Linked DNA regions of Homo sapiens: region 1 is linked to region 2. The links are contacts of gene promoters, found by promoter capture Hi-C in blood cells and fetal thymus (Javierre and others, 2016). All regions are on one chromosome and are shown on one strand. The core of a region is centred on a gene start or on the middle of the fragment in contact, and the rest is flanking DNA. Distances in the headings are between cores, read along the strand shown.

Evidence for each region. Contacts are between HindIII fragments. The CHiCAGO score rates a contact against its expected background, and 5 or more counts as called.
Region 1: a contact is called between the fragment with the promoter of KASH5 here and a fragment that was not itself captured in region 2, in 1 of 17 cell types (total B cells). The highest score is 6.0, in total B cells.

What each region holds. Positions count from the first base shown.
Region 1 is chr19:49,386,915-49,389,965 of GRCh38, forward strand. KASH5 (KASH domain containing 5) reads left to right here and starts at 1,335. Exons shown (of 20, transcript NM_144688.5): 1 at 1,335-1,413. LOC101928295 (a long non-coding RNA gene) reads right to left here and starts at 1,167. Exons shown (of 3, transcript NR_110729.1): 1 at 442-1,167. The HindIII fragment of the contact is 10,613 bases long and covers 1-3,051 here.
Region 2 is chr19:49,205,477-49,208,559 of GRCh38, forward strand. All of the region lies in intron 20 of TRPM4 (transient receptor potential cation channel subfamily M member 4), which reads left to right. Among named protein-coding and RNA genes, the nearest start is that of TRPM4, 49 kb to the left of the region's middle. The HindIII fragment of the contact is 201 bases long and covers 1,560-1,760 here.

The DNA.
Region 1 (3,051 bases), core at 85-2,584, 180 kb after region 2:
GAAGGTACGGGGGAGGGGAGATGAGGGGAGGGGAGTGGGGGAAGGGGAGGACAGGAGCAGAAGGGAAGGGAGGCGGGAGGGGAGGGGAAGGTACGGGGGAGGGGAGATGAGGGGAGGGGAGTGGGGGAAGGGGAGGAGAGGAGCAGAGGGGAAGGGAGGGGGGAAAAGAGAGATGGCACAAATTATTAATATCCGTCACCACAGATCTTACAGATATTAAAAAGATTGGGCATGGTGGCTCATGCCAGTAACCCCAGCACTTTGGGAGGCCAAGGTAGGAGGATCATTTGAGGGCAGGAGTTCGAGACCAGCCTAACATAAGACCGTGTTTCTCCCCCTCCAAAAAAAGACAATATTATGAACTTTATGCAAATTATTTGAAATTTTAGATAAAATGGAAAAATTCCTTGAAAACCACAACTTACCAAAACCACAACTTACCAGAAATAAAATAGAACATCTGAATAGTTGTATTTTTATAAAAGAAATAGAATTTGTAATTTAAAGTCTTTCCACAAAGAAAACTCTAGGTCCAGATGGCTGGTGACTTCTTCCAAACACATAAAAAATAAATAACATCAATCCTACACTAGCACTTTCAAAGAATAGAAAAAGAGAGAACACTTCTCCACACATTATATCAGCATAGCCTTGTTAACAAAACTCAACAGGGATCTCACAGAAAAGAAAAGAAAAGAAAATATGGCAATACATAAAAAGGACAGGCCAGGCGCTGTGTCTCACGCCTGTAATCCCAGCACTTTGGGAGGCCGAGGCGGGTGGATCGCCTGAGGTTGGGAGTTCGGTACCGGCCTGGCCAACGTGGTGAAACCCCGTCTCTACTAAAAATACAAAAATTAGCCAGGTGTGGTGGCGGGCGCATGTAATCCCAGCTACTCGGGAGGCTGAGGCAGGAGAATTGCTTGAACCCGGGAGGCGGAGGTTGCAGTGAGCTAAAATTGTCCCACTGCACTCCAGCCTGGGCGACAGAGCGAGACTCCATCTCAAAAAAAAAAAAAAAAGAAAGAAATGGGGGACGGACAAGGAGTCTCTCAGTTCAATTCCCCCTTCCTCAGCCCATTTCACCAAAGCCTGAAGCGGAAGAGAAAAACACGAGCCCCAGCATGGCGGGCGCAGCCACCCCCTCCTTCCACCACCAGACAAACTCCGTGGCCACAGCCCACACCGCCAGCGCGCATGCGTGACACGCGTCGGCCGCCGGTTTGCACCTGCGTCTTAAGAGGAGTCCGGGCGGGGAGGGGCGGGGCTCAGACGCTGCGCACGCGCACTCGCGACCCCTCGCCTCCTTTTGCTTTTTCTGGCGGGAAAAGCTCACGCGCACCTCCCCCAACTCAACTGCCGTTCGTCGTTCGTGGATGTCCGTTGTGTCCCGAGACTAGGACGTGGCTCCAGGTGCGCCCTGCCCCGCGGCGAGGTTCCCAGAATGGCCCTTCCCAGCCCCTACCGAAATCCTAGCGAAGCCCCCCCATATTGTGGGAGAGATACCCCTGCGTCAGGGCCCCCCAGATCCTGACCACTTGGGAGGCCGAGGCGGGCGGATCACGAGGTCAGAAGATAGAGACCATCCCGGGGAAGTGAAACCCCGTCTCTACTAAAAATACAAAAAATTAGCCAGGCGTAGTGGCACGCGCCTATAATCCCAGCTACTCAGGAGGCTGGGGCAGGAGAACTGCTTGAACCTGGAAGGCAGAGGTTGCAGTGAGCTGAGATCGCGCCACTGCACTCCAGCCTGGGTGACAAGAGTGAGACTCCGTCTCAAAAAAAAAAAAAAAAATCCTGACCACATCCCCTCAGATATACTGAAAGGAGTCCACCAGGAAATCTTATAGTTGACCCCCGAAATCCTGTCAGAATCGTCTAGAAATTGTCAGACTTCTCCCTCAGAGCCTGCCAGAAACTTTCCCCAAAATCCTATTACTCTCCCCAGATCAGCAGAGCCACCTAGACTCGTGTCAGAGATCCCCAGAAATCCTGGCAGGTCCCCTCCCAAACCCAGTCGGACCTCAGATTCCGTCAGAGAGCACAGAAGTCCATCAAAGACACCCCAGAAACGGAGACCCCGAAATGCACTCAGAGACCCCCGCAGAAATCAAGACCCTCCAAATCCAGCCAGAGACCCCCAGAAATCCAGTCAGACCCCTGCAGAAATCAAGACCCCCAAAATCCAGCCAGAGACCCCCAGAAATCCAGAGACCCCCGCATAAATCAAGACCCCCAAAATCCAGAGACCCCGAATAAATCAAGACCCCCAAAATCCAGTCAGAGAACCCCCAGAAATCCAATCAGACCCCCGCAGAAATCAAGACCCCCGAAATCCAGCCAGAGACCCCTGAAATCCAGTCAGAGACCCCCACAGAAATCAAAATCTCCAAAATCCAGCCAGACACTCCCCAGAAATCCAGTCAGAGACCCCCCCAAAATCCTGTCAGAGCCCTTGAAAGCCCGCCAAGGCCCACACCACCCAGAGCTCCTGCCAGGGCCCCATCCTGCTTCAGTGTCCCCGTCTCAGTCCCGTCAGACCCCCGAGATCAACCAACACCCCCGGGGTCCCTCAGGACTCCATCCCGAACCCACTCCGTGCGCCAGGGCCCAGCCAAGGCCATCGCCCCCCTTTGCACCCTGCAGGGTGTTCCAGACCCTGGAAGGGCCTCTCTTCAAAGACCCGTGTTTCCAGAACGGTGGCAGCGGGCTCACGTGGCTTGGGGAGAGCAGGCACTGGGGGAGCTGGGTGAGGACAGGCGAGCCCAGGCTCGACTGGTGGCCCCAAGGGGCGCCCGTGCCCGCTGTGATGATAGCAGCGCCCAGGTCTCTCTCTAGCCCCCAGAGTGCGGCCACTAAGGTTTTGGGTCGGCCTGGGTGGAATGGAGGCAGGATGGGGCCCCCCAAACTCCTGTCACTGCTGCAGGGACTGCCCAGAGCAGCTGCAAGTGGGGCTGGCAGGGATGAGGAGGAGGTGGCCTGGGCTTGGGGGACCATGTACATCCTGAGTTGGAACCCAGGGGAGCAGCAGGTTTGGGGCCATGATGAGGA
Region 2 (3,083 bases), core at 410-2,909:
AAAAATTTAAAAAGGTCTCATTCTGAGGCACTATGGGTTATGACTTCAACTTTTTTTTTTTTTTTTTTTTTTTTTTGGAGACAGAGTCTTGCTCTGTCACCCAGGTTGGAGTGCAATGGCGTGATCTCGGCTCACTGCAACCTCCACCTCCTGGGTTCAAGGGATTCTCCTGCCTCAGCCTCCCGAGTAGCTGGGATTACAGGTGCCTGCCACTATACACAGCTAATTTTTGTATTTTTAGTAGGGACGGGGTTTCACCATGTTGCCCAGGCCGATCTCAAACTCCTGACCTCAGGTGATGCACCTGCCTCGGCCTCCCAAAGTGCTGGGATTACAGCCGTGAGCCACTGGACCCGGCCGGACTTCAACATATCTTTAGCGGGATACAATTCAATGCATGACACTCATAGATTTATGAGTTTATTTCTGGACTTTCAATTCTATTCCACTGGATTGCGTCTATCCTTATGCCAGAACCACACAGTTTTTTGGGTTTTTTTTGAGACGGAGTCTCGCTCTTGTCACCCAGGCGGGATTGCAGTGGCACGATCTCTGCTCACTGCAACATCCGCATCCTGGATTCAAACGATTCTCCTAACTCAGCCTCCTGAGTAGCTGGGATTACAGGCACCTGCCACCACGCCCGGCTAATTTTTTTGTATTTTTGGTAGAGACAGGGTTTCACCATGTTGGCCAGGCTAGTCTTGAACTCCTGACCTCAGGTGATCTGCCTCGGCTTTCCAAGGTGCTGGGATTACAGGCGTGAGCCACCATGTCTAGCCCACACAGTGTTGATTACTGTAGGTTTGTAGCAAATTTTGACATTGGAAGTATGAGTCTCCTTTGTTATTTTTCAAGATTGTTTTGGCTATTCTGGGCCTCCTGCAATTCTATATGAACTTAAAGATCAGAGTTTCCATGTCTGTCAAAAAGGTTGTTGGAATTTTCTTTTTTTTTCCTTTTTTTTTTTTCTTTTTTTTGAGACAGAGTTTCACTCTTGTTGCCCAGGCTGGAGTGCAATGGCGCGATCTCAGCTCACCACAACCTCTGCCTCCCGGGCTCAAGCGATTCTCCTGCCTCAGCCTCCTGAGTAGCTGGGCTTATAGGCATGTGCCACCACGCCCGGCTAATTTTGTATTTTTAGTAGAGACAGGGTTTCTCCATGTTGGTCAGGCTGGTCTCGAACTCCCGACCTCAGGTGATCCACCCGCCTTGGCCTCCCAAAGTTCTGGGATTACAGGTGTGAGCCACCGCGCCCGGCCAGTTGTTGGAATTTTCCGAGGGATTGCGTTGAATCTGTAGATTGCTTCGGGTAGTATTGATATTTCATCTAGGTGTTCTTTTTAATGCTTTTCCAGCAGTATTTGGTAGTTTTCAGGCTACAAATTGTTCACCCTTTTGGTTAACTTTATTCCTAGGTGCTTAACCTTTAGATACTGTTGTAAGTGGAATTGCTTTCTTAATTTCCTTTTTGGATTGTTCATTGCGGGTGTGTAGAAACACAACTGATTTTTGTGTGATCTTGTACCCTGCAACTTTGCTGAATCTGCAGCCCTAGAAGCTTTCTTGTGATTCTCTGGCATTTCCTATATATAGGATCATGTCATCTGTGAATAGAGATATTTTTACTTCTTCCTTTCCAATTTGGATGCCTTTTATTTTTTTTCTTGTTTAATTGTTCTAGCCAGAACTTCCAGCACAATGTGGAATAGCAGTGGTAAAAGTGGACATCCTTGTCTTGTCCCTGATCTTAGGCAGAAAGCTTTCACTCTTTCACCATTGGGTATGACGGTAGCTGTGGGTTTTTCAGAAGTACCTTTTCTCATGTTGAGAAAGTTTATTTCTATTCCTAGTTTACGATTTTTAAAAATTATGATGCATGGTGGCTTGTGCCTGCAATCACAATACTTTAGGGAGCCAAAGTGGGAGGATCACTTGAGGCCAGGAGTTCAAGACCGACCTGGGCAACATAGTGAGACCTTATCTCAATAAAAAAATAAAAAATTTGCCAGGCGTGGTGGTGCATGCCTGTAGTCCCAGCTACTCAAGAGGCTGAGGTGGGAGGAAGGCTTGAGCCCAGGAGGTCAAGGCTGTGGCTTCAGTGAGCCATGATTTCACCACCATCATGATTGTGCCACCAACAGAGTGAAACCTTGTCTCAAAAAAAAAAAAAAAAAAAAAAAGCCATGCATGGTGGCTCAAGCCTGCAATCCCAGCACTTTGGGAGGCCGAGGTGGGCAGATCATGAGGTCAGGAGATCGAGACCATCCTGGCTAACACGGTTGTAGGGGCCAGCCCTACAAGGTCTGTGGGTTTTTCTCCCCGTGTGCAGAGACAAGAGATTGTAGAAATGAAGACACAAGACAAAGAGATCAAAGAAAAGACAGCTGGGCCTGGGGGACCACTACCACCAAGACGTGGAGACCGACAGTGGCCCCTAATGCCTGGCTGCGCTGTTATTTATTGGATACAAAGCAAAAGGGGCAGGGTAAAGAGTGTGAGTCATCTCCAATGATTGATAAGGTCACGTGAGTCACATGTCCACTGGACAGGGGCCCTTCCCTGTTAGGTAGCCAAGGCGGAGAGAGAGAGGACAGCTTACATCATTATTTCTTCTATGCTCTTTTAAGAAAGATCAAAGACTTTAATACTTTAATACTTTCACTAATTTTGCTACTGCTATCTAGAGGGCAGAGCCAGCTGTACAGAGTGGAACATGAAAGTGAAACAGGAGTGTGACCGCTGAAGCACAGCATCACAGGGAGACGGTTAGGCCCCTGGATAACTGCGGGCGGGCCTGACATCAGTCAGGCCCTCCACAAGAGGTGGTGGAGCAGTCTTCTCTAAACTCCCCCGGGGAAAGGGAGACTCCCTTTCCCGGTCTGCTAAGTAGTGGGTGCTTTTCCTTGGCACTGACGCTACCTCTAGACCACGGTCCGCTTGGTAACGGGAATCTTCCCAGATGCTGGCGTTACCGCTAGACCAAGGAGCCCTCTGGTGGCCCTGTCCAGGAATAACAGAAGGCTCACACTCTGTCTTCTGGTCACTTCTCATCATGCCCCTTCAGCTCCTATCTCTGTATG